Linked DNA regions of Homo sapiens: regions 2, 3, 4, 5 and 6 are each linked to region 1. The links are contacts of gene promoters, found by promoter capture Hi-C in blood cells and fetal thymus (Javierre and others, 2016). All regions are on one chromosome and are shown on one strand. Each heading gives the region's core, a stretch centred on a gene start or on the middle of the fragment in contact. The rest is flanking DNA. Distances are from core to core; before and after follow the strand shown.

Region 1 (4,538 bases), core at 648-3,147:
CCCATCTCCACTACTTCATTAGACTGGTCACCAAATCCTAACCTATGGAAGTGTCTTGTAAGAGGTGTTACCAGGTAAATGAGTTACCAGGTTAATGAGTGCTCTGTCAGTTCATCTGTGAAACAAAGACCAACCTCTCAGGTTATATTAAGGGTTAAATAAGATAACGACCCCAGAATATAAAACATCTGATACTATACATATTACTCAGTATATACTCCTTTCTCCTCCACATCTTTCTGCAAACTACAATCAATCTAGACAAAAGTGTTCTCATCCTACTATGGAATGGTTAAACAACAGAACAGGAAGATTTGGAATCCACAAAATGAAATTTTTAGTTTCAGCTCTACGGTGAACTGGCTGTGTGTTCTTGGTCAAATCACTTAACCTTGCTGAATTGGTACGTAAACTTGAAACTTATCTGTTTCACAGAGACACTGAAGATCAAATGGCAAGACTTCATTAACCTGCCATAAGATCCTGCTAAAGGCCACCTCCAACAGCTCTCTCATCACTAAGATGGCACTTATGCCACTGACAAGGACGAGGAATAGCCTTAAGTTCTGAAATTGAATCCTAATGGAACCCCATTCCTCGTTTGGCCCTATTACCCTGGTAGCTACCAAGACATTCAAAGCTTTGGCTTCTGCTGAGGAAAGTAACATCTTACCAACCTGCAGCATGCATTAAGACTTCAGGAGGAAACATCTGAAGCATTTTATAAACTGTAACATCTAGAGAACTGAGGGAGGTATCATCAGCATTTCTATCTTCTTGGGTTTCTACAAATAGGCTTAATACTTGGCTGAATAGTTTCTTTTAATCTCATCAGAAGTCCCACCTCTCTTATAAAAACTTCACTTCTCAACCATCATTTCTATTTCCTTTCTTTACAATGGGCTCCATCAAATAATTGCCCTTAAAAAGTTTTCTATTACTTTCTGGGTTTTCTCTCTTTAACTGTGTCACAAGGAGAGAGAAACCATTACTTAAACACCCGTATCACCCTCACCTGCGGCAACTAAGAGTGTAAACTACATTCAGCAAAAGGTTGCTTACCACTACATTCAAAAGTGCCCAGTCAACTTCACTGAATGAGTATTGACAGCGTTTCCAACATACAATAAACTTAACCTGGAGGGTACGGAATTAAGCTCAAATAGAAATTTTAATAAGCACTACATTGACAGTCTTTGACCTGGGAAGTCACATTTCAAACAAGCGACCACACCCATTGATCAACACAATGCCTCCGTCATCCCCGCCAGCTCAAGTCTTTGGTAGTTCTGGGGCATGCACGTTTCTGTTGCTGTAAATGTCCTTCCTTCTGTCTGGCCTGCATGGATTTCGCTCCCTGACTAGCGGCCCCCAGCACCGTGAGGGGTACGCGCTGGCGGGTGCTGAGTAGGGCTCTTAACAGTCGGCTTACTACTTCTGAAACCTCAGGACGTCCGGAGCGAACACCTCAGCGGAATAAGCTGACATCCAATCCGCGCTTCAAATTACTGAAGCCATTCTCACAAGCTCAACCCCAGGACACCAGGAAAAGGAGGAAACAGGCTGGGAGAGCTTGGAGGAGCGGGCGCCAGGAGTCAGGGCAGGCCGGGGGCGGCGGCTCCCCAGACCGCAGGCCCGCCCGCCTCACCTGCAGCACCAAGGCCTGCGCGGCCCCGGGCGGGAAGCCCATGCGGTCCGATGGGTGGCGCAGCAAGCGATAGAAGTCTGTCTTGCGGTAGAGGAAGCCAAAGAGAACGCGCAGGAAATCCTGGACGTTGCCCACGTGCTGCAGGATGCCCAAAAGGGCCTGGTCATACAGCTCGGCCGCCCCTGTCTCCATGTCGCCTCCCGCCCTAGGTACGCTTCACACACACAGCGCCGCCTCAGACCTGCCGACTGGCCACTTCCGGCGTCCGCAGCCAACGGCTCCGCCGGACGGCGCGGCTGCGGAACTTCCGGTCCGTGCTCGTTCGGCCCCCGCGGCCCCGGGCTGTTTTCCCCAGACCCAGCTGCCCCACGGGCTTTGCCTTGAGGTGGTCTTAGACAAAAGAGCCCGACAAGGGCAGCAAGGAGGTTCCTACGCGGAAGGAAGCCCGTGGCTTCTGCTGCGCTGCGAGGGCTTGACCGCCATGTTTGAAGCGGGCGGAAAAAAATTATGGGGCGTGCAGTGTCACGTGACTGCTCGGATTTTTGTCACGTTGTCTGTGGATCCTTTCTTATTTCTGTGTTGAATTCCAGCCTGGGTATTTGGAACCTATGGTTAAAGATGGGGCTAGGGTAAGCTTTTTGTTAGTGAGCCAGAGACGGGAAAATGCGTATATGTGGGATGTATGGGTTTCTTATTAACAGATCTGTGAGTTAAACTCAGGGCGTTGCATCAGAAGAAAGTCAAGATGACGAAGAAAATAAAGAGTGCATTCAACGTATATTAAGTGGAAAGAGCTAGATTCAGAATAGAGAATCCGTATGCCATCGTTGTGAAATATGTACGTGTATGTGTGTGTATAGTATGTATATACATATATACGTCATATATACATATGTTGTTAGTGTCTGTCAAAGTATAATCTTAAAAAAGTAAAAAGCATGACACTCATACAAATATATCATGAACACATATCCAAGATTTCTTCAGCAAATTAACAATGATATGGTAAAGCTGGTTCAAAAGCATTTTGAGGAAGTGGAGATTAAACATTTTGACAAAGCATTAGAGTAAGATTAGGTTGGATACAAAGCTGGCTGGTGTTCTACAAGATGATAAAACCATAGATTATCATTTCTAGTGTATAGAAATGATTTGCACCTCTTCTAGATTAAAACATGCAAGTTAACATGTCTTCATAGTGTATAAGCTTTAATGAATTGTAAATAAAATCCAACTCAGGTAAATTGCCCTAGAACAGTGGTTCTGAAACTCTTGATTTAGGGACCATTAATCCTCTTAAAATTTGTTGAACATTCCAAAGAACATTTGTTGATATGGGTTATGCTTATCAATATTTACCACATTAGAAATTAAAACATAAAATGTTTAAATATTTATTTAATCATTTTTAAATGACCATAAAACACATTACATGTTAACATACTTTTATGCAAAAAATAATGTTCTTCAAAGCAATAAAAGTTCAGTGAGAGGAGTAACATAGTTTTACATTTTTGCAAATCTCTTTAATGAGCCTACTAGAAGACAGCAAGATTTGGCCGGCACAGTAGCTCATGCTTGTAATCCCAGCACTTTGGGAGGCCGAGGCGGGAGGATCAGGAGTTCGAGACCAGCCTGGCCAACACAGTGAAACCCTGTCTCTACTAAAAATACGAAAATTAGCTAGGCGTGATGGCAGGTGCCTGTAATCCCAGCTCCTCTGGAGGCTGAGGCAGGAGAATCGCTTGAACCCGGGAGGCAGAGGTTGCAGTGAGCCGAGATCACACCACTGCATTCCAGCCTGGGCGACAGAGCTAGACTCCGTCTCCACAAAAAAAAAGAAGACCACAAGATTCTCACATCTGCATTCACTGCAACATAATTTGCATTATGTTGTTTTCATTGAAGTATATGAAAACATGCAACCTCACACAGACAGTTGCAAATGAGAGGAATATTTTGTCTTTTCAAATAAATGTGGCTATTTGTCTTTAAAATGACATCAAAATTCTTCTACAAGCGATAGTTTCTATTTTTTTTATTTTTAAGAGGCAGGGTCTCCCTCTGTCACCCAGGCTGGAATGTAACGATGTGATCATAACTAACTGTAGCCTTGAACTCTTGAACTCAAGCAATCCTCCTGCCTCAGCCTTCTGAGTAGCTGGAACTACAAGCACATGCCACTGTGCCTGGCTAATTTTTAAATTATTTTTATAGAGACGAGGTTGGGCCTACATTGTTCAGGCTGGTCTGAAACTCATGGGCTCAAGCGATCCTCCCCTCTCAGCCTCCCAAAGTGCTGGAATTATAGGTGTGAGCCACTGCACCCAGCCCTGTAACTGGTAGTTTCTTAAAGGTTACTTGCCATATGGAATCTAAAACTGTATCTATAGACTTTTCATACTCTGTTACATTAATATCGATTGGTCTTTCACTTTGAATGGATCGTTAATAAATGCATGATTTTATACCATCATGTATTAATTAGTCATTTGAAAATGTTGGTCCACTGTGTTATGCAGCTCTTCCAAATGTTCACTCGTTTTATGCAACGAGCATATCTTGCCCCCAGATCTTGGTTTCTAATATCATTTCATTATATAATATCAAAAAATAACATTTGTTAGAATTACCACTAAACTCATCAGAGAAGTCTGTCTTTATTGACAAGCACTCAAGCTCATGGAAGCGGGATATGGGTTTTTTGAATTCTAATTTTAGCTTAAAAACTTGAACTTTATTATTGGAAGTAGATACAATCAATTATTTTCCTTGAAGAGACAGGCTCACTTCATTCTGTCATTCAAGTAAAAATGATGCTCTGTGACTTGTTCAATTGGCAACTCAATCACACAAGTGCTTTGCATCAGTGCAACCATTTTGCTTCAGT
Region 2 (4,538 bases), core at 1,237-3,736, 640 kb after region 1:
CCTGGCCAGTGGACGTCTTCCGATGAGTTCACTCTGTGGAGCCCCAAAGCTGTTGCGTTCAGAGTCTGCCTGGGCCCCGGGGCACGACTCCCATCACACACCCACCAACCCCTCCCTGCTTCCCCCAGGGACTCTTCCACGACCTTCGTCTGCTCTCAGGGCCCTGGAGCCCCACCTCCCACTCCCAGCAGCAAATGGCCTACTTCGACTTCAGAGAGGAGGGCGAGGCTGTCAGCAAGGCTGTGCCCACCCTCTGGAAGACTTAGTCTTCTTCATCCCTAAGTCTTCTTAGACTTAAGAAGACTTAGGGATGATCTTTCTCTTGCCTGTCATCTGGGTTCAGGGGATGACCTTTCTCCTGCCTGGGCCAGGCGGCCAGTTCGAGGCTGCTTCCAACACCACTAGCACCCCCAGTCATGTCAGGCCCAGTTCCATTCCCCTTTCTGCGCTCCTTTATTCCCTTCATTACTACTATTTCTGGAAGAAAAGCCACAGGCATGCAAGGATGACAACACACACGGTGCAGGGCAGGGGGCAGTGGCGTTCCCACTTGGCCCTGACCCCCGTTCTCATTTTTGGAGGCTGATTTCCTACTCTCTTCAGAGATGATCAAGCCTGTTCAAGTATGGATGTGCAGGTCCGTTCTCCTTAGAAATGCGACTTATGTGCACACTGTCTCCCCCTCCTTTTTTTTTTTTTTTTTCCATTTGGGGAACATCCATTTAGCTCAGCCAAACTGAGCTAGTTCTGTGAGCTCAGTTTGGCTGGGTTTTAATGACACACGCCTGCTTCTGAGTGGCGGCTTAGTCCCCTCGGTATGGATGTGTCCACATAATTGCTAGTCTCCTATTGATGGACATTTAGGTTGTTTCTGATTCTTTGCTACCACAGAAGACCCCAGCTTTCGGCATGTGGGCAGGGAGCTCTGCAGGGTACCAGTGTAGAGGCGGAGATGCTGGGCCAAAGGGTCCATGTTTCGCCCACATGGGAGGCCCCGCCCAAGTGTCCTCCAAGCATCTGGCCCGATTCCCAGTCCCTGCTGGCACACCTGGGTATGCAGGGCTGGTCCCCGACACCTCATGAGCAGACACGCTCATCCTGCCCACTGGGTAGATAGGTCGATGGGTGATGGTGGAGGCTTTTATTTTTACTTTTTATTATGATAATTTTAAACATACAGCAAAGTAAAAATAATAGTTCAATAGGTACTCACAGACCGATGGTCTAGATTAACCTTGTCAACATTTTGTCGGACTCATGTTACTATTGTTTGTGTTGTTGTTGGAATTTAAATCTGAAACATCGTGTTGTTTCAACCCCAACTACTTTCTTTTTTTTTTGAGACAGAGTCTCACTGTCACCCGGTTTGGAGTGCAGTGGTGCAATCTCAGATCACTGCAACCTCTGCCTCCTGGGTTCAAGCAATTCTCCCTGCCTCAGACTCCCGAGTAGCTGGGATTACAGGCTCCCACCACCACACCCGGCTAATTTTTGTATTTTTTAGTACAGACGGGGTTTTGCCATGTTGGCCAGGCTGGTCTTGAACTCCTGACCTCAGGTGGTCCACTCGCCTCAGCCTCCCAAAGTGCTGGGATTACAGGCATGAGCCACCACGCCTGGCCAATCCCCTACTACTTTCATATGAAGTTGGAAATCCCAGGGCTGTTTTCCTACAGATAAAATTATTCTACGCGTAAAGTAACTGCTAGTTCCATGAGCTCAGGTTGGCTGGGTCTTTCCTTCTCAGTGGTGTCCAGCCTCTGCAGTCCTCCTTCAAACTGCCCCTGCACCCCAGCTCCCCCAGCCTCCCTCCTGTTTCTTGTCCCTCTATAGTCCTCACTCCTCAGGGAATGTCTATGGCACTGCCACTATCCCCTTTCTCTGCTCTCCCCTCCCCTCATCCTGTGGGAAGCATCCGCCCACGCTCCCTGAGCCCCTGCCCTAGCCCCCACCCCTGCATCCCTGGCAGCAGCTCCCAGGCACAACCAGGGCCCTGCCTGGTCCGGAGCACGCCCATCTGTTCAGCCTTCAGAGGCCTTGGACCCACATCTGCCCACTGTTGCCAATGCAGAACTTGGCCTCCTCCCACATCTCCTTTCCCTGGGAATGGTTCCTCACAGCCAGAGACTTGGAGGGCCTCCCTTTTGTGTTTCTCCATCTAATCAGTTACCAAGAGGTTGGGCCACTGGTGGATGCCCCTCCAAAACCCTCTTGAGTGTGTTCCTGTCAGCTCTTCTGGGCTGCTGCCCTGGGATGGGCTGTTGTGGCATCGGCCACTGCAACAACCGCCTTAACACACTTGTCTGACTACAGACGATCTGATTTGTTCATGAGATGTCCTGTATACTGTCCTCCAGAGCACAGGACCTCTCTCATCTTGTTGAACAGCACATTTGCAGCATCTGGGGCATTAGCCTTTAATGGGAAGGAAGGGAGGGAAAAAAGGAGGAAGGGAGGGAGGAAGGAGGAGAGGGAGGGAGGGAGGGAAGGAGAGAGGGGAGGAGGGAGGGAGGAGGTGGGAGAGGGAGGGAAGGAGGCAGGGATGGAGGGAGGGAAGACTATATCAGGCCTCCCCACTTTCCAGTTAGTTGTCAATGCTCTGTCCAGCATGGCCTTTCACGCCTGGGCATGATCCTATCACAACCCCATCTGAAACTCTTCGGCGGTTTCCCATTACCTGGGGGGAGAAGTCCAAATGCTGGGGTGTGGCATTCATGCCCTTCATGACCTTGAATGAAGTGGCCTAGAGGAAGCGTTTGAGTGCATGCCTGTGTGAATCTAGTCTTGGCTGTGCTAGTTGTGTGACCTTGAGCAGCTTACTCCTTCCTCATTTGTAAAATGGGGTAATAATGAGACCTATTCCAACTACCAGAGGGAGCTGGGGCCCGGGGGGCCAGGAGGGAACACATGTTCTGTGTGGCTGGTGGGGGGCAGTGGGGAGGAGTGAGAGGTGTTGGCAGGACAAGGAGTTCGGGTTAGGTGCACAGCTGCCCTTAGAGCCCTCAGGGCCAAATGGAGAAGCCAGAGGGTTCCAGGAATGCCATTCCTCCAGGCTCACCAGCCCCAGAGGCAAGGAATGTAGGGTTCTTCTTGCGCCCAGGGGAAGGTTGTTGGCCCCTGGCTTGCCTGGCTCCAGCCTATCATCTTCTAAGATGCACAGGCTCTTTCACTCCCCAGCAGCTCCTGTGTGCCCAGGATTGATGGGGAAATGAGGCCCCGGGTTGTGGTCATCTGGAGCACACTGTCCCCACTCCTGGTCCTATGGGGTCAGCTGGGTCAGGATTTTCTCCAAAACTCTGAGTAAAGACAGGGATGGAGGAGGCCATGCTATTCCACAGGTGTGTCCTGGTCTTGTGGTGACTGCCACAGGCCCTGGGTACATGACCTGCCTTCAGCCCTTGCAATCAGGGTCACGGCCTCTGATCACGTGAAGGTCTCATGCTTGTCATCAGGGTCACAACCCTGGTGCAGGTCCTCAGCCCTTGTCATCAGAGTCAGGACTCCTGGGTGAATGTCCTGTCCTTGTCATTGGGGTCATGACCCTTCGGTGAAGGTCTCACTCTCATTATAGGGGTCCCGACCCTGGGTGCAGGTCCTGCCCTCAGCCCTCTGCCCTCATCATGGTCTGTCTGCTCTGACACCCTTCCTACATCTCCTGTCTCACCAAGTCATGTCCCTGCATACAGTTGCTACACCTCCTGCCTCTAGCTCCTGCTTAGAAAGTTCTCTCCTCCCATCTTTCAAAGCTCTACTGCCACCTCCTACTCCAGGGCTGCAAGGCTGTGAGGCTGCAGTGGGCCCTCTGCCCCTTCTCTTGTACCTAGCAGAACCGTGGGCCTCATGGGCCTGTGGTCATTGGCAGGTGGGTTGGATGTCCCACTGGCTCTGTTTCTGCCCTGGACCACAGCAGGTAGAGCAGGGCTGCAGAGGATGCTGGGCGCAGCCCTGGTGGCTAAGGCCTCATGGTGTCATCTCTGTCCAGCTTGTTCACTTGTGGTCCATTTGCTAACACTTGTGTGTGGCCAGGGGCACAGGCACATGAAATGCAGACCCCAGGTGCATACCCACAGAGGCTCCTCCCCAGCTGCGAGGCTTCTGACAGGGAGTCGCCCCCGAGCTTTCAGAAGAGTCCAGCGCTACACAAGGACGCAAGGAGCATGGATGGTCCTAGGCTGAGATATCATGCAGCCTGGCAGGTGCAGAGAAACAGGGTCTTTTTGGGGAGTCATTTTCTCCAACACTGAGGTGGGAGAGGGCTGGGGAGGCTGGCAGGGCTGGACCATGGAGAGCCATGGGGGCCAGGCCAGGGGTCAGGGTGGCAAGGCAGGATCAGACACGTTTTAGAAAGGCCCTTTGCCAGTTGACAGGGAGGTGGGAGGAGAGGAGAAGGGGAGCCTGGACAAAGGTAGGCACTGGGCCTGGGAGGAAGGTATGTGGGACCGGGGCCTGGGTCTCCTGGGCTGAGAAGGGAAAGTCCAGCAGGGGTGGGGTTGTAGAAGGGAGGGCAGCAGGCCTGGCCTCTACATCTCCATAAACTC
Region 3 (4,538 bases), core at 675-3,174, 580 kb before region 1:
AATACCAAATGTCACCAACTACAGGGACACAGTTTAAGCCCTACTGGCTCACAGAAACACCAGTGAAGCATTAAGTCCACCTCTGACCCATGTCTACAAAGTAGTGTACTTGGGCACCAAATGCACCACTATTTTTTTTTTTTTTAAAGCTTCGTTCAGGGCAGCCCCACACAGGTTCAGCCACCCTCAACATTGCCTCCAGGAGGCTCTGCCCACCCTTTCCTGACAAGGGGGAAAGGAATGCTGCAGGACCTTGAACCCCTAGGTCAATCAGCCTGGCCTTCCCAGGGATGGTTCCCTGCTTACTCTATTCATGAGCTCAAAGTGCTGGGTAGTCAGCTGGCAATGAAAAGGCCTGGTCCCGGAAATGACCACTGCCCCAAAGCCTAGAAAGACAGCAGGCGGGGTTCAAATTCAGCTTGCTTCATTCAGGCCCACTGTACTGAGCCAAATCACCCCAGGGCATGGCTCAGGCCTCATCTGGAGGAGGCACGAAATCCATGATCCCGGCCCCTTAGCACCGTCCCCTCCCCACCCCTACCACTGAACACACACCTGTAAAGCTCTTTGGGAACTGTTCTGAATGGCTATCACAGCCACTAGATCCAAGACCCTCTGAATGATGGGTAACAGTCAAAGAAGAATTTTAACAACTAAAGCGATGACCTTGAGCCTAATTTCTTTCTTTGTAAAATGAAAGTGTTGGACTGTCATTCCCAAATTTCAGTACTAGTAAAATTATCAAAACAAAAAACAAAAAAATAATGAATTACTGAGGTTTTAGTTTGCCAAGTGAGAATTTTTTCTCAAAAATTACAAACTATATGTGTCGCCATCATTTCCTAAAAGGAATAACATTTAAATCAAAAAAGTTGAAAAGAGGTAATATCAAAATAAGCGCAGCCACCCCAAGGCAGGCCGGTAGGCAATGGCCCCGACCAAGGAGATCCCGGAGCGGCTCTCCGGCTGTCAGCAAAGGGTCTGCATCTGCCCGGATCCTGACATTCTGGGTACGTCTCAACGACGCGGCAAACAAGCGTCCACTCCCAACGCGAGCAAGTTTAAAACCCAGGAACATCGATACCAGGCGCCGGAGCGAAGCATTTCCAGGCCTCCGCGGGTTGCCCCGGGCCGCGGCGAGGACCCGCACCCCGGTTCCCCAGCCGCTCGCCGGGCCCTCGCTCCCGCCGCGCCCCGGGCACCTCCGGGCCTCGCGCCCTCCCCGGATCCCCTAGGCCCGCGTACCCGGACCCCCGCATCCCGGGGGACCGCTGTCCTCCGCCGGCGCCCCCGCCCGCCCCCCACGCCCGCGCGGCCGGTCCGCCCAAGGTCGGCGCGAGCGGGCCGTGGGCCTGGTGGGCCTGGCGGGCGGGGGCGCCCCTGGCCGGGTCCGGGCCGCATCCCAGACCAGAGCCCGCAGGCCAGAGCCGCTCCGGGTCCCGCTCCCGTTCCTGCCGGCAGCCGCGGGGGCGCAGGGCCTGCGAGGCGGCACTCACCCGGGCGACGCCATGAGCGCAGCGAGGTCTCCGCTCCCGCCTCCTTCGCTTCCTCCGCGCGGCCGCGGCTCGGCGCCGGGGAGGGGCCTGGCCCGCCGGCCGCCCGCCCGCTCCGGGACGCGCTCCAGGGGTGGAGGTGGGGTGAGGTGGGGTAAGGTGGGCCCGGGGTCCTCTCGGAGCAGCCCGGGGACAGCTGGGGCGGGGTGGGGGCGGGGCGGCCCAGGTCAGCCCGCAGCCCGCCCAACGCCCACCTGCCCAGGTGCCTGGAGGCCGGAACTCGCCGGGCGGTGCCTGCGGTGCCAAAAGCTGTAGGATAACCTGCCCCAGGGCCTTACTGAACTTCACACCTTTCTGTAATTGGAGTTTAATTTCTGTAAGAAAAGGCTTTTCTTTAGCCCTGAAGCGTAAGGCCTTATTATTAAGCAAAACAATAACTTTCCTACTTCTTACTTGCAGTGCTGTGTTGGACGAGTTGCTGGCCTCTCTGAGACGGTACCCATTGTAAAATGTGTATAAAGTGGCCTTGTGAAGCTCTAGGCAATGCGAAGCACTTTTATTATTCTTTATAGTGTGTTATTAAGAAAAATAATGAATCTGCAGTTCCTCCAGTGAGGTTTCACAACTATTCTTACAAGTTATGAGTCCTTAGGCAGGTAGATTTTTCAGCTTCAGTTCTTCTCTCTGCAAAATGAGTTTCCAAAAATGATCTAAGTGAAAATGCTTAATAAAAAGCTCTGGACAATGTAAACCATTGTTGATAACATTTTTAGTATTATATTAAATATCACTGGCCGAACGCAGTGGCTCACGTCTGTAATCCCACCACTTTGGGAGGCCGAGGCAGGAGGATCGATTGAGCCCAGGAGTTTGAGATCAGCCTGGGCAACATATTGAGATGACCCCCTGCCCGCCCCGCCCGTTTCATTTTTAAAAATAAAATTAAAGTTAAAAGTAAAATATCATTAACAACCACTATTTAAAAATGTTTACTACTATTAAGAATACAAGACAGCAAAGCAGTGATTAAAACCTTAGCTCTGAAGCCAGAATACCTGTGTTGGAATCTGGGCTCCACCAATTACCAGCCCCAGGAGCCCCTGCAAGATAGAACCTTTCCAGGGCCACAGTTCCTTATTTGAAAAATAAGGCTAAAAATAAGTCCCTTCCTCTCTGTGAAGATTAAATGAATTAATATTTGTAAACATTTGTAACTATTTTTAAATGTTAGTAAACATTGCGTGATGCATGGTCTCTTTTCCTCCTGGGAGAATCCAGTCAATGTTTCTGAGCCTCCTTGTCCTCTTCGGTAAAGAAATTCATAACTGCTACCTTGAGTTCAGAAGATAATTAATGCTCTGTAAATGGGAGCTGATAGGTAAAGCCACGCGAACTTGTGACACCCAAAATAAGGACAAATCCAGGAGGACCAGAGTTAGGAAGAGTTTGAGGAATGGGAAATCCTAAATCCTAAATGCCTGATTCAAGGGAGTAATGAAATGAAGGAGATCAAACTAAAAGAATTTTTTCTTTGTTTGTTTGAGACAGGGTCTTGCCCTGTCACCCAGGCCAGAGTGCAATGGCGAGATCTTGGCTCACTGCAACCTCCACTTCCCGGGTTCAAGCAATTCTGCCTCAGCCTCCCAGTAGCTGGGACTACAGGCGCCCACTACCACACCTGGCTAATTCTTCTATTTTTAGTAGAGACAGGGTTTCCCCATGTTGGTCAGGCTGGTCTCAAACTCCCAACCTCAGGTGATCTGCCTGCCTCAGCCTCCCAAAGTGCTGGGGTTACAGGCGTGAGCCACCATGCCTGGCCTAAATAAGCATTCTTTTAAACATAAGGAATACATGTTTACTGACATAAAATCTGGTTCAGAAACCAATAACCCCAAAATATGGCACTTTAACAAGCTGAACTGAAGAAGTCTCAAGGTCTCTCTGATCTCCCTCCCCACTGGTTTCTCCCAAAACAGAAAATGTCTTTATCTGCTTAAAGTCCAGACCCTCCAAGGAGAACAACTGTTTTTCTTGCCCTCCCTGTAAGACCAAGAATGTAACCACACCTGAAAAGACCCTTTCATAGGATAGCGTACAAGTTAATCTCTGTGCCCTGATCCATTCCTTCTCCCTAGTAATCCTTTATTGCCCCTTGAAAGAATTCCTCTTTCTCCCCTCCTGTAAGTTGTTTTGCCAAGATGGTCTACAAGCTTCTGAACCTTGTTGGGTGGTGGGAAATCATTCTGTAATTCTCCCTGTGCACACATTCATAAAATTTGTATGCCTTTTCTTCAATTAATCTGCTTTTTGTGAGTTGATTTTTCAGTAAATCTTCAGAGGGCAAGGAGAAACTTTCCCGTGGCCCGTACACTTAACATGAATTTTAGCATCCCACTATATGGTTAGACCATCATGTTTAACCAACCCCTACTGTTGGACATAAATATTGCTACCAGTATTTCATTATTATAAGGAATGTGAGTAATAAATATCCTTATAGCCAAAACATCCCATAAACATCAATGATTATTTCCTTATGCCAAATTTTGAAGAGTTGAATTTCTAGATCAATAGGATATCAGTATTTTAAGGCTCTTCTGAAACATATATACTCTGTGTATGTGTATGTGTATACCTACACACATACACAAACACACTAATATACATATACTTAAATACATAATACACATACACACATATGTATACATATACCTACACACATATATACAGACACACAAATATACACATACACAACATATACACACATATATACAGATTGCCTTCCCAGCACAATCACCTGATAGTCCTAGTTTTCCAAAACACTGTGTAACTTTTACAATTTTTCAAAATCATTGCCAACTTCATAGGTTAAAAACCAGTATTTTAGGCCAGGTACGGTGGCTCATGCCTGTAATCCCAGCACTTTGGGAGGCCGAGGCGGGTGGATCACTTGAGGTCAGAAGTTTGAGACAGCCTGGCCAACATGGTGAAACTCCATCTCTACTAAAAATACAAAAATTAGCTGGGTGTGGTGGCGTGTGCCTG
Region 4 (4,538 bases), core at 1,120-3,619, 550 kb after region 1:
AATACAGTCATAAAATTAACTGGTATATATTTTGCTTGTTCACAACATATCAGACGTGCTCAGAACTTTATGTAGATTATTGTATTGATTGCCTGTGGCACTTCTCTAAGGATTGTTAGCCTGTTGTGCAGATGGTGAGAGCTCATCCAACCAGTTTGCTTAGTAAGTGGTGCAGCCCAATGCATGCCGGAGCAGAGATCATGCCTAGGACCTGAGGAACATCTATCTTTACTGGTAGAAGAAAGAGAGCTGGCAAAGGGTGCGTGAGATGCAGGAAACACAGGGGACAGAGTGACAGAGGCGTGGTGGCAGCGTTAGTGCACTTCTCTGGAAGCAAGACTTTCTGTTGTGTTTTTTGTTTTCGTTTTTATTGAAAGAGCTTCCTGATTCCATGTCTGTTTTAGTGGGTGAATGGAATAAAAACCCAGCTATGAAAGGGTGAAATAAATAAAGGTAAGAAGGAAGCTGAGGAGCAGAAAGCTCAGCCTTGGCTGTCAGGAGGCAGCAGGGTCAGGAAAAATGTTGGGTTTTGCTCTTTGAGGATTTGTTTTATTTGGGGTGGCTTTTGTTTGCTTATTTACTTTTCCCGCTAATGCTGGAGAGCTGAGCATGATGGTGGTGGTGGGGAGGGGCTCATACAGGGCAGGGTCCAACCCCAGCCTCATTAGGGAGGCAGCTGCAGGGCCTGCTGGGAGCCACTGGACGACCAATTTCTGCTTTTTTCAGGAGTGGTTACTGAATAGTGTAGTCCTTGGCTGCAATTGTCTGTGAAATTGGTGGGTTTGAGGAGGTGTCCTTATAGGACCACAGGTTCTGCTACACCGTTTTATATTGGATTTTGCATATGGGTGAATTTCCCATATGCTGGAGAGAGACAGAAATGAGAGCTTTTAATGAAAGTTTGGTGGTTTATTGTATATATGTTTTGTTAGTTTCTGTGTTTGGTGATAAGGGGGGTCTGAGCTTGGCCTACTGTGGGGGTTTCGGCTGCCATCTGTGCACTGGGTCACCCTATCCTGGCAGGCACCTGCAAAAGGAGTGTTGTCATCTCCTCCTGCGTTTCCTCTGTTGAGAGTTATGGAGGAGATGGTGGGGAATAAGTTCTCACTCTTAGTCACGGCTCTGGTTTTTGCAGGCCTGCGTGATGTTTCCTTGCTGCGGCTGCACATCAGTGTCTTGTTTTCTCGGGTTTATGTTCCTTTGGGTGACTGTAGATAGGGATTGTAGCATGATCTCTCAGCACAATTTGGGATTGCTTCCCCCCAGACCCCCACCCCCCGCCGCCATTGTCAAAGGTGGTGATGAAAAGCTTTCTTACGGAGTTATTGTGAATGAAGTGTCAGGTCTTTTCCTGGGTTCTGCAGGCGAGGCTTGCTGTAATCCTCTCTTGCTCTCTCACTGATTCTCACTCTTTAAGGTGACTTTGATTGCAGGATTAGCCTTCAGAACCCTCATGAAATGCTGGATAGGGTGTGAAGTCATCAGAGTTAGGGGCTGGCCAGCTGCTGATCAGGGCTTCTCCCCCTACTTTTTTTTTTTTTTTTTTTTGAGACAGTATCTTGCTCTGTTGCCCAGGCTGGAGTGCAGTGGCATCTCGGCTCACTGCAATCTCCGCCTCCTGGGTTCAAGCAATTCTCCTGCCTTAGCCTCCCGAGCAGCTGGGATTACAGACATGTGCCACCACACCTGGCTAATTTTTGTATTTTTAGTAGAGATGGGGTTTCACCATGTTGGCCAGGCTGGTCTCGAACTCCTGACCTTAAGTGATGTACCCGCCTCAGCCTCCCAAAGTGCTGGGATTACAGGTGTGAGCCACCGTGCCTGGCCTGGTTTCTCCCTTGTTGATCTGCATTGGAGCTCAACACACTCAGTGTCCCCACTTGGAGTGTTCCCCACTGGGGAAAGAATTGCATAAAAAACATATGCTCCACTTGTTGATGCTAGCACTGGCCACACCTTCCACCTGCCTTCCTGGAGTTCTCAGAAATGAAGTGTCCCAGCTGAGCTGGAAAGAGTTGGAGTGATGTTATGTTTTATCTTCTGTGGGGAATCTCCCCCTTCTATCATTGTCTTGCCAGATAAGGTTACCTGGCTTCTATGTGTTGTAGGAACAGGTGAAGAACAAGGTGCCTCCATGCCAGAGGCTGCATGGCAGCCCAGCCCCACCGTGCCGGCCTGCGTGCTGGCTGTGGTCCCTCAGGCTTGTGTGCTGTTGGTACCTTTCTCACCAGTCTGGCAGTCAGTGATCCCTGTTGCATGGGGGCCATGGTAGTAGTTTTGGCTACTTCTGTTTGTTAACCATAGGTACAACACAAAGCATTTGTAAATAATGAACTCCAATCATTGCCGTTTCTGCCTGCAGCCTGGAATTGTCTCGCCATTTAAACGAGTATTCCTAAAAGGTGAAAAGAGTAGAGATAAGAAAGCCCATGAGAAGGTGACAGAGAGGCGCCCTCTGCACACTGTGGTGTTGTCATTGCCTGAGCGCGTCGAGCCAGACAGACTGCTGAGCGACTATATTGAGAAGGAGGTAAAGGTAAGTCGTCATGGGCCACAGGACGTGCCTGCCAAACGACAGTGACGGTCATGCTTGTATCCACCAGACACTCTTGAGTTTATAAGACACAGCCACACAAACACCTTAGTAGTTGATTATCCCACCCATTGTCTTGTCTATGCTGATAAATTTAATAATTGGATAACTGAAAACCCAGATTCTGTCTGCTGACCCCAGTTTATTTTTTTCTGTAGTAGCAATGCCACCTTCTTTCTCTCGAAGACTTGGCTGTGTGAGTAGTATGTGCTGCTCCACCAGAAGAGGGTTAAAGAGCTGGGAGAAAACTCACATCTCCTGTAGTTTGCAGTTGAAAAGAGTTACCTGGTCAAGGCCATGACCTTGCAGGTCTAACAGTCACCGCCTAGAATTCAGACCATGTGTTTGAGGCTCATCATTGGGTCTCAAAGGCCTGAGGCCAAAATACTGTGCATAAACCATGTGACGTGCATAAGTTGATTTTTAATCCCTCCCCTAAAATGAAAATATATGAATAAAAAGGTATAAAGCCATGAGGTCAGAGAGAATAGGAAAGGAGACAACAGTGGATGAGGTGGTCCGTAAACATGGAAGAAGGAAACCGCTGAGGGTGAGATGAGTTAGAGCTAATGCAGCCAGACCCGAGTTCCTGCAGAGGACCCAGAGTCCAGGGGGCTCAGGAGGGGCATGGGGCAGTTCGAATGTCCATGGGAGGGATTTCCACTCTCACCTGGCTCAGCCAGATGATTAACTCATCCCCACCCACTGGAAGATGGGGCTTTGGACGTGCAGAAACCTGGTACAGGGGCAGGTGGGGAGAGACCAAGACAGAAGATAAGGAAGTCAAGTCAAAGCCTGTATGTGGAATGGAGAGAATTCCCAATTCCTTTTTCTTTCAAGCTTCTAGAATGCCTGCAACCAGGCCTTTCCCACAAAGGAATTCTTGGAAGGGTGCTCATTGGGGAAGTTAAGCAGCCCCTACTGGCCCTTGGGTTTACCCAACCAACCAGCCTGAATAAACTCCAACAGTCAGGACTCCCGCCAGGCATCCGACGTCTGTCAGCTTTTTGGAGCCTCATTTCAAACACAGGCAGCTGAGTATAAGTACACATTTGAGGACAACTTTCAACCTAAAGGCAGAGCTCAAGACAAATACACAAACATGAATAAACAGCAACAATGCAGAAAATAGGGGAAGAAATGTAAAAGTATATAATATTTTCAGAAAGATAAGAGGAAATATTGTTGACAGTGACAACAGGATTCTACTTTTAAATAAAAAGGTGAGAGGAAGAGCTTCTGGAATTAAAACTGTTAATTAGGCCAGGTGCGGTGGCTCACACCTGTAATCCCAGCACTTTAGGAGGCCAAGGTGTGCGGATCACTTGAGGTCAGGAGTTCGAGAGCAGCCTGGCCAACATGGAGAAACCCCGTCTCTACTAAAAATACAAAAATTAGCCGGGCGTGGTGGCAGGCGCCTGTAATCCCAGCTACTTGGGAGGCTGAGGCAGGAGAATTGCTTGAACCTGGGAGGTGGAGGTTGCAGTGAGCCAAGATCACACCACTGCACTCCAGCTTGGGTGAAAGAGTGAGACTGTATGTCAAAAGAAAACAAAACAAAACAACTATGTTATTTATATATCTTTAAAAAATTCAATAGAGGTGTTGAAAGATAAAAGTAAAAAAAAAGGCCAGGTGCTGTGGCTCATGCCTGTAATCCCAGCACTTTGGGAGGCCAATCACGAGGTCAGGAGATTGAGACCATCCTGGCTAACACAGTGAAACCCTGTCTCTACTAAAAATACAAAAAATTAGCCGGGCGCGGTGGCGGGCACCTGTAGTCCCAGCTACTCGGGAGGCTGACATAGGAGAATGGCGTGAACCCAGGAGGTGGAGCTTGCAGTGATCCCAGATTGTGCCACTTCAGCCTGGGCAATAGAGCGAGACTCCGTCTCAAAAAAAAAAGTAAAAAAAAGTCCCAGAAAGAATATTCAAAAAACAAAGA
Region 5 (4,538 bases), core at 931-3,430, 530 kb before region 1:
CCAGCAGTGTTGGGAAAGTTCTGGACCTCTACTGGATCTAGCCATAAATGGTGGTCTTCAGAAAAATGGAGATTGTGGCTGCCAGCACCCACAAGACAGCAGCCTCATGCCATGCAGGCAGCAAGCCATCCTGAACAGCGTTCCTCCCAGAGTCTGTTTCCTCACCTGCTGTTCACTGGTGAGAGGAAAAGGGACTTGTTCTCCCTTGACCAGTTTTCTAGTTTTCCTGTTCCCACCCTGGTCTTTGCCTGATGACAGAGAAACTTTCTAAAAAAAAACAAAAACAAAAGCTATAAAAAATCTGCAAAACACCCTATCAGAAGTCAATGATTTCCTTAAAAATACATCTACTTCCTTCCTGTCCTTCTTATCTTCTCCCTTGCCCCAGACAGGTGTGCTTGCAGGCATCCAGCTGCCTGCATCAGAGCTCCCCTTGAAGGCAGGTGCGCAGCTGGGCTCCACGTTGGAGGGCAACAGCAGAGCTGCCACTTATAGCCGGTCTTTCAACCCTGCTGTCCCCCAGCCCACCCACAATGGCTCAAAAGGCTGGTCTTCTGAGAAAGACTTGCTGCTAGCCAATCATCACAGTCACTTTCCAGTTATGTTAAGTGGCATCAGAGCATTGATTAGCACTTACGGTATGCAAGATATGGTAGGAGGAAAAGGGAATTATAGACAGAAACCATGTGAAAGTATAAAAGTCACTGATAGACTAGATACACGAATGAGAAACAAATCAAGCATTATCATCACAGAAAACCACCAAATCGCAAAAGATAAGAAAGGGATCAGGCATGGTGGCTCATCCCTGTAATCCCAGCCCTTTGGAAGGCTGAGGTGGGAGAACTGCCTAAGGTCAAGAGTTTGAGACCAGCCAAGGCAACATAGTGAGACCCTGTCTCTTATTAAAAAAAGGAAAGGAAAAAAATTTTTCAAGAGGAAGAAAGTAACAAAGGACATATAAAACATCAGAAACCAATTAACAAAATGACAGGAATAAGTCCTCACTCATCAATAACAACCTTGAATGTAAAGAGTTCAAACTTCCCAATTAAAATATATAGCCTTGTTTAGCCGGGCATGGTGCCACATGCCTGTAATCTCAGCTACTCAGGAGGCTGAGGCAGGAGAATCACTTGAACCCGGGAGGTGGAGGTTGCAGTGAGCCAAGATCATGCCACTGCACTCCAGCTTGGGTGACAGAGTGAGACTCTATCTCCAAAAAAATACAATTAAAAAAATATATATATACACACACATAATACCCTTGCTGAGTGGGTTAGAAAAACAAGATCCAGGCGAGGCATGGTGACTCACAACTGTAATCCCCATGCTTTGGGAAGCTGAGGCAGGAGGATGTCGCTTGAGTTCAATACCAGCCTGGGCAACAGAGCAAGACCACTAGCTCTAAAAAAAAAAAAAAAAAGCTGGGCCTCGTGGCATGTGCCTGTAGTCCCAGCTACTCGGGAGGCTAAGACATGAGGGTTGTTTGAGTTCAGGAGTTGAAGGCTGCAGCTGAGTTATGATTGCCACTGCACTACAACCTGTGTGACAAAACAAGACCTTGTCTCTAAAATAAATTTTGTAAAATGAATTTAACAAAAACAAGATCCAGCTATATGCTGCCTATAAGGAACTCACTAAAAAGATGCATACAGACTAAGTGATGGGATGAAAAAAGATATTCCACTCAAATGTAAACTAAAAGCATGCAGGACTAGCTATACTTATATCAGACAAAATAGACTTTAAGTCAGTCAAAAAACAAAAAGAGAAAAGGTCATTATATAATGATAAAGGGATCAATTCAGCTAGAGGATATAACAATTGTAAATATATATGCACTCAACACTGGAGCACCCAGATATATAAAATAAATATTACTAGAGATAAAGAGAGAGATAGACCCCAGTACAATAAGTTGGGGACTTCAGCACCTACTTTCAGCATTGGACAGATTATGGTCTAGAAAATCAACATAGAGGCATGAGACTTAAAATACGCTATAGACCAATGAATCTAAGAGACATTTACAGACTATTTCATTCAACAGCTGCAGAATACATATTCTCATCAGCACATGGAACATTCTCCAGGATAGCCCATATGTTAGGCCACAAAATAAATCTCAACAAATATTTAAGAATCAAAATCCTATCAAGTATCTTATTAGACCACAATGGAATAAAAAGCAGTATGTTGCAGCCTCCAGAACTGTGAGAAACAAATTTCTGTTCTTTCTAAATTAAAAAAACAAAAAGCACTAGAAGTAAGTAACACAAGGAACTCTGGAAACTGTACAAATACATGAAAATTAAACAACACCATCCTGAAAGATCAAGGGGACAGTGAAGAAATTAAGAAGAGGCTGAGTGAGGTGGCTCACACCTGTAATCCCAGCACTTCAGGAGGCCAAGGAGGGCAGATCACTTGAGGTCATGAGTTCAAGACCAGCCTGGCCAACATAGCAACACCCCCATCTCTACTAAAAATACAAAAATTAACGGGCCAGGCATGGTGGCTCACACCTGTCATCCCACCACTTTGGGAGGCCACGGTGGGCGGATCACCTGAGCTCAGGTGTTCGACACCAGCCTGGGCAACACACTGAAACCCCATCTCTACTAAAAATACAAAAAATTAGCTGGGTGTGGTGGTGTGTGCCTGTAGTCCTAGCTACTCGGGAGGCTGAGGCAGGAGACTCTCTTGAATCTGGGAGGCGGAGGTTGCAGTGAGCCAAGATTGCACCGCTGCACTCCAGCCTGGGCAACAGAGCAAGACTCTGGCTCAAAAAAAAAACAAAAAACAAAAAAACGAAAAAGATACAAAAATTAGCTGGGTGTGGTGGCGTGCGCCTGTAATCCCAGCTACTCGGGAGGCTGAGGTAGGAGAATCGCTTGAACCTGGGGGGGCAGAGCCAAAATTGTGCCACTGCACTCCAGCCTGGGTGACAGAATGAGACTCTGTCTCAAAAAAAAAAAAAAAAAAAAAATTAGTGCCGGGCGCGGTGGCTCACGCCTGTAATCCCAGCACTTTGGAAGGTCGAGGCAGGCGGATCACGAGTTCAGGAGTTCGAGACCAGCTGATCAACATAGAGAAACCCCATCTCTACTAAAAATACAAAATTAGCCAGGTGTGGTGGCGCATGCCTGTAATCCCAGCTACTCAGGAGGCTGAGGCAGGAGAATCACTTGAACCCAGAAGGCGGAGGCTGCAGTGAGCCAAGATTGTGCCATTGCACTCCAGCCTGGGCAACCAGAGCAAAACTCCATCTCAAAAAAACAAAAAACAAAAAAAACACACAAACCTAAACTGCCTCTGTAACACTAATGAAAGGCCACCAGGTTAGAAGGATGAGAGGGGCCTGAATTTGTAGTTAAATGATTACTGCCATTATTCCAAAGGTCACAAGATTTACAACTTCCCCCAATAACTCCTGTAAATAACATCACTATTGTGGAACCTAAGATTGGCCTTTTGAGATGTCTTTTCAGGCTTTTGCATCTCTGATAACTGGATGGCCCCAGTTAGACTCCTGTGGCCCCACCCAGAAGCAGACAGCACATGAAGACCATTTTCCACAGCCCTATGACTGCACCCCAAACCAATTAGCAGCACCCATTCCCTAGCCCCCTGCCTGCCAAACTATTCTTTAAAAATCTTAGCCTCCAAATTTTCGGGGAGGCTGATTTGAGTAATAATAAAACTCTAGTCTCCCATTTAGCTGGCTCTATGTGTATTATACTCTTTCTCTGATCTTGATAGATCAGCTGTATCTGAGCAACAGGAAAGAAGAACCCATTGAGTGGTTACAGGACAGCCAACAGGAAACTTAAACAAGAAAAATGGGAGCATGAGAGGGATAAGGGCGAGGGGGTCTACATAGGGCAGGCCACATCCTCTCCTCTTTAAAACCCATCAGGGTTTCCATTACACATAGAATAAAACCCAAAGCCCTTCCCTTGGCCTCTCCTTCTCCCTGTGTCCCACTTCTCAGACCAATTAAGCTGGCTCCTACCTCAGAACCCAGTCTCTGCTCCAGGGTTAGTTACCTCCTCTAAGGCTTTCCCTGGCCTATCAAGCTGAAACAGGTTTCCATACACTGCAACAGGAAGCAGTATCATGCTCCCTCAAACTTCTCACCACTAGAGACTCCTCCTTATAGTCTTCTCTACATGGAGCTTGGTCACCTCACTGAGCTGATCTAATTCCAGAACACAGAGACCTGCTTCTTTGGCCTGCACAACCTGGTTTCAGGTAAGGGTAGCTTCTCCTCAGGTAGACTAAAATTTGAAAAGTGCTCCCAGACCTCCTAGGGCTTCCACCTGGGACTGGTGGCCAAACGGGTGAAGGAACCTGACAACTAGAAGGTGATTAAATAGGAGTATTCCCAGACAAAGAAGAGAAAAAAAGGTATGTTCACCAAAGAGAAGACGGTATAAGTACCATAAGACTGATGGCCAAACTCCTCTAGAATATGGAGACTGGGGGCAGAGGGATGAGGGGGCAGAAAGTCACCTGAGGGTCTGGTCTGAAGG
Region 6 (4,538 bases), core at 649-3,148, 530 kb after region 1:
AAATTTATCTTTTCTGTTTATCCCTCCTTTTATCATTTTTAGCACTTTTATTTCCTCTGGAAAATTTCCATCTGGAATAATTTACCTTTGGCCTTGTCAACTTAAAAATTCAAGAAATGTACATATTTGGAAAGGATACTTTATTTCTTACAAAGAGTTGCAACCTGTAGGCTGGCCATCCCACAGGCTGGGAAGCGTAGCCTTTGGCAGAGCCTGAAAGGTAGGCACTTCAGAGGAGGAGGGGTTGGAACAGGAATTTGTGCTGAATGGGTTTGTGCTGACCAAGTATATACATATTCAACAGGTTATAGGAGGAGTTATGAATATTCATGGAGGGGGTCCTGATGCATGTGTACTGAACAGACATGCAATTTATTTTATTTTATTTATTTTTTTTGAGACAGTTTCACTCTTGTTGCCCAGGCTGGAGTGCAATGGCGCGATCTTGGCTCACTGCAACCTCTGCCTCCCGGGTTCAAGCGATTCTCCTGTCTCAGCCTCCTGAGTAGCTGGGATTACTGGCGCATGCCACCAGGCCTGGCTAATTTTTGTATTTTTAGTAGAGACGGGGTTTCATTATATTGGTCAGGCTGGTCTTGAACTCCTGACCTCAGGTGATCCACCCGCCTCAGCCTCCCAAAGTGCTGGATTACAGGCATGAGCCACTGTGCCTGGCCCAAACATGCATCTTTTTTTTTTGAGATGGAGTCTTGCTCTGTTGCCCAGGCTGGAGTGCAGTGGCGCGATCCTGGCTCACTGCAACCTCCGCCTCCCAGGTTCAAGCGATTCTCCTGCCTCAGCCTCCCAAGTAGCTGGGATTACAGGCGCCTACCACCACGCCTGGCTAATTTTTGTATTTTTGGTAGAGACAGGGTTTCACCATGTTGACCAGGCTGATCTCTAACTCCTGGCCTCAAGTGATCTGACTGTCTCGGCCTTCCAAAGTGCTAGGATTACAGGCGTGAGCCACCTCGCTTGGCTAATTTTTTTTGTATTTTTAGGAGCGACAGGGTTTCACCATGTTAGCCAGGATGGTCTCGATCTCCTGACCTCGTGATCCACCTGCCTCGGCCTCCCAAAGTGCTGAGATTACAGGCGTGAGCCACTGCATCTGGCCCAAACATTCATTTTTAAAAGAACTTTTAGGTTCAGGGGTACATGTGCAGGTTTGTTATATAGGTAAACATCTGTCATGGGGATTTGGTGTATAGATTATTTCATCACCCAGGTACTAAGCGTAGTATCTGACAGTTATTTTTTCCAGACAGGCATGTTCTTTGCATTCCATGTTCACTTTGAGGTGGAGACAACATTATATTCAGGCCCCATACCTCAAAAGGTGAAGCAAGGAGACAGGGCACTCAAGTGCACAGCCTCTATAAACTGGCTAGAACCAGTCTGTGGCTGGTGGTCTTCTTGTCAGGAGAGAGTTACTGAAGTCAGTCTCTTATACAGTCACAGCTATAGTTTTGGCTTGTGGAACAGGAGGTCAGTTGGCATCTGGTGGTGAGTTGCAGTTGTTTTCCTATTGCTTATCCAGGACAGTGCTTGTTTGGCTGCTAGAGAAAAAGAAGAACCCTGTGGCAGTTAGAACAGAGTTGATCTTGAAGAGTCAGACTGTGTGGCTGAATCCTTACCTGGCACGGTCGTAGGTCTTGTTTATAATTTGGTGTCTTTTTTTCCCCATGATCTTCATGAACGCATGTAATTTGGTATTTTATTGCCACAGAGTCCATTCTGTCAGTTTTGTGGTCTCTATTTTAACATTAATGCTGGTCAGTTGTGCCTGAACTACAAAAGGGAGGGAATATAATGAGGTGCGTCCCAAGGCATCTTGTCATGGCTGGAACCAAAACAGGCTTTGTTCAGTCAGTTGGAGTGCTTAGGATTTTATTTTTAGTTCTTAGCCTGAAGACCTTGCTTAGAATTTTTCATGGTGTAGGTCTGACACATTGTTTCACCTTTTATTATCTGAAAATACCTTCATTTCATCTTCATTTTTGAAGGATAGTTTTACAGCAGCAGTCCCCAACCTTTTTGACACCAGGGACCGGTTTCGTGGCAGACAGTTTTTCCATAGACCAAAGTGGGGAAAAGGTTTTGGGATGAAACTTCCATATCAGATCATCAGGCATTAGATTCTCTAAGGAGTGCGTAACCTAGATCCCTCCAACACACAGTTCAGGGTTTGTACTCTTATGAGAATCTAATGCAGCCACTGATCTCACAGGAGGCGGGGCTCAGGTGGTAATGCTTGCTGGCCCTCCACTCACCTCCTGCTGTGTGCGGCCTGGCTCCTAACAGGCCACGGACCCAGACCAGTCTGTGGCCTGGGGGCTGGGGACCTCTGTTTTACAGGATATAGAATTCTAGGTTGACTGTTTTCTTTCAGCATTTTTTATTATTTATTTATTTATTTATTTTGAGATAGAGTCTCGCTTTGTCACCCAGGCTGGAGTGCAGTGGCGTGATCTTGCTCACTGCAACCTCCACCTCCTGGGTTCAAGTGATTCTTTTGCCTTAGCCTCCTGGGTAGCTGTGATTATAGGCACATACCACCACGCCCAGCTAATTTTTTTTTGTATTTTTAGCAGAGATGGGGTTTCACCATGTTGATGGGGCTGGTCTTCAACTCCTGACCTCCAGTGATCTGCCTGCCTGAGCCTCCCAAGGCGTGAGCCACCATGCCCAGCTTCTTTTGGCATTTTAAAGATGAAGACTCATTATCTTCTGGCATCCATTTTTTCTCTTGAGAAGTTACCTGTCATTTTTGTTGTACTGAATGTCTTTTATTTGACAGTTTTAAGAATTTCTTTTTTTTTTTTTTGAGATGGAGTCTTACTCTGTCGCCAGGCTGGAGTGCAGTAGCGCAATCTCAGCTTACTGCAACCTCTGCCTCCCAGATTCAAGTGATTCTCCTGCATCAGCCTCCCAAGTAGCTGGGATTACAGGCATGCACCACCATGCCAGGCTAATTTTTGTATTTTTAATAGAAATGTGGTTTTGCCATGTTGACCAGGCTGGTCTCGAACTCCTGACCTCAGATGATCTGCCTGCCTCGGCCTCCCAAAGTGTTGGGATTATAGGCGTGAGCCACTGCGCCTGGCCTTTTTTTTTTTTTTTTTTTTTTGAGACAGGGTCTCACTCTGTTGGCCAGGCTGGAGTGCTGTGGCGTGATCTCGGCTCACTGCAACCTTGCAACCTCCGCCTCCCGGGTTCAAGTGATTCTCCTGCCTCAGCCTCCTGAGTAGCCGGGACTACAGGCATGCACCACTGTGCCCGGCTAATGAAAAAAGTTTTTTAAATATAGATGGAATCTCAGTATGTTGCTCAGGCTGGTCTTGAACTCCTGGCCTCAAGCCATCCTCCTGCTTCCGCCTCCTGGGATTACAGGAATGAGCCACCGCACCTGGCTGGGTTTTATACTTTGGTTTGGTAGATCAGTTTTGATCTTTGTCCTTACTCTTAGGGTAAATTTCTTAGTCCTGGAATGTATGTTTTACTCCTAAGATGTGGCCTTTGTGGGGTTTCAAATGGATAGTCTCAAGTGTTTAAGGTACTGATTAAGCCCCTTTAACTTGGCAGGACTTGGACTCCAAACTCTTATCTACCCTGCAGCTAGGGAGAGCTAAAATCTCAGCTTTTTTTTTGAGACGGATCTTGCTCTGTTACCCAGGTTAGAGTGCAATGGTGTGATCATAGTTTACTGTGACCTTAAACTTCTGGGCTCAAGCAATTCTCCTACCTTAGCCTCCCAAGTAGGTAGGACTACAGGCATGCACTATCTGGCTAATTTTTATTTTTGTAGAAATGGGGTCTCACTATGTTGCCCAGGCTGGTTTCAAACTCCTGAACTCAAGTGATCTTCCTGCCTTGGCCGCCCAAAGTGCTGGGATTATAGGCATGAGCTCCCGCACCCAGCCATCAGCTTGCTCCTTCAACCTTCAAGCTATCGTGTCCTTTCTGGGCTTGTGGGAGTCTCACCTCCGCTTACGCAGTTCAGGGTTCAGCCAAAGATTTGAGGGGACCTTATACTCAGACTTTGGGTTCCTTTTTTAGTGGGTTCCTCCTTTCCTATATTTCCCTCTCAATTTCCAGCTTCTTTAGCAGTCTCAAATCCTCCTTTAACCTGTCAGGCCAATAAAATTGCAGCTTTTTTTTCTCTGCTCCACTCCTCTGAGACTGGGGCATACTCTCAGGAGTAAAGCAATATAAAAGTGGATCTTGCCCAGTGATGTTCCCTTCTTTCAAGGGTCATATAAATTCCAAGCTTCTTTTTTATTTCTTGTTTGTCTCCAGTGTCTTTAGAAGATTGTTTTTCACATTTTATCTAGAGTTCATAATCTCGGTCTGTGAGAAAGTTATTTTGATACAGTCTACTTCTCTCTTAAGGGAATAAGAACTTCTTTGGGTTTATTTTTTCTTGACAGTGTGTTTTGGAGCTCTTTCATTATAGATATATAGTTTCTTTATTCTTCTTTAGGGTGGAATGGCATTTTTATCTGTGGGCTACTGTATTTAAACAGCAGCCCTCCTAT

The links. Contacts are between HindIII fragments. The CHiCAGO score rates a contact against its expected background, and 5 or more counts as called.
Region 2: a fragment that was not itself captured here is called in contact with the fragment with the promoter of NUDCD3 in region 1 in 4 of 17 cell types (naive B cells, fetal thymus, total B cells and 1 more); the score reaches 6.9 in naive B cells.
Region 3: a contact is called between a fragment that was not itself captured here and the fragment with the promoter of NUDCD3 in region 1, in 1 of 17 cell types (total B cells). The highest score is 5.5, in total B cells.
Region 4: a fragment that was not itself captured here is called in contact with the fragment with the promoter of NUDCD3 in region 1 in 1 of 17 cell types (naive B cells); the score reaches 6.7 in naive B cells.
Region 5: a fragment that was not itself captured here is called in contact with the fragment with the promoter of NUDCD3 in region 1 in 5 of 17 cell types (total B cells, naive B cells, neutrophils and 2 more); the score reaches 5.7 in total B cells.
Region 6: a contact is called between a fragment that was not itself captured here and the fragment with the promoter of NUDCD3 in region 1, in 1 of 17 cell types (naive CD8 T cells). The highest score is 5.7, in naive CD8 T cells.

Annotation. Positions count from the first base shown.
Region 1 is chr7:44,488,761-44,493,298 of GRCh38, forward strand. It overlaps NUDCD3 (NudC domain containing 3), which reads right to left and starts at 1,898. Exons shown (of 6, transcript NM_015332.4): 1 at 1,649-1,898. The coding sequence starts at 1,840. RefSeq lists silencers at 1,480-1,649, 3,715-3,841. The HindIII fragment of the contact is 1,642 bases long and covers 639-2,280 here.
Region 2 is chr7:45,130,098-45,134,635 of GRCh38, forward strand. No RefSeq gene overlaps it. Among named protein-coding and RNA genes, the nearest start is that of TBRG4, 21 kb to the left of the region's middle. RefSeq lists an enhancer at 3,724-4,224. The HindIII fragment of the contact is 5,554 bases long and covers 1-4,538 here.
Region 3 is chr7:43,905,066-43,909,603 of GRCh38, forward strand. It overlaps URGCP-MRPS24 (URGCP-MRPS24 readthrough), which reads right to left and starts at 1,531. Exons shown (of 7, transcript NM_001204871.2): 1 at 1,497-1,531. The coding sequence starts at 1,510. It overlaps URGCP (upregulator of cell proliferation), which reads right to left and starts at 1,531. Exons shown (of 6, transcript NM_001077663.3): 1 at 1,497-1,531. The coding sequence starts at 1,510. RefSeq lists silencers at 1,307-1,736, 1,797-1,956. The HindIII fragment of the contact is 3,554 bases long and covers 148-3,701 here.
Region 4 is chr7:45,035,891-45,040,428 of GRCh38, forward strand. CCM2 (CCM2 scaffold protein) reads left to right here. Exons shown (of 10, transcript NM_031443.4): 2 at 2,363-2,536. Among named protein-coding and RNA genes, the nearest start is that of CCM2, 38 kb to the left of the region's middle. The HindIII fragment of the contact is 2,124 bases long and covers 1,308-3,431 here.
Region 5 is chr7:43,955,821-43,960,358 of GRCh38, forward strand. It overlaps UBE2D4 (ubiquitin conjugating enzyme E2 D4), which reads left to right. Exons shown (of 7, transcript NM_015983.4): 7 at 1-316. It also overlaps the pseudogene POLR2J4. Among named protein-coding and RNA genes, the nearest start is that of UBE2D4, 32 kb to the left of the region's middle. The HindIII fragment of the contact is 6,737 bases long and covers 1-4,538 here.
Region 6 is chr7:45,015,952-45,020,489 of GRCh38, forward strand. The region is part of intron 1 of CCM2 (CCM2 scaffold protein); the gene reads left to right. Among named protein-coding and RNA genes, the nearest start is that of CCM2, 18 kb to the left of the region's middle. The HindIII fragment of the contact is 4,740 bases long and covers 1-4,268 here.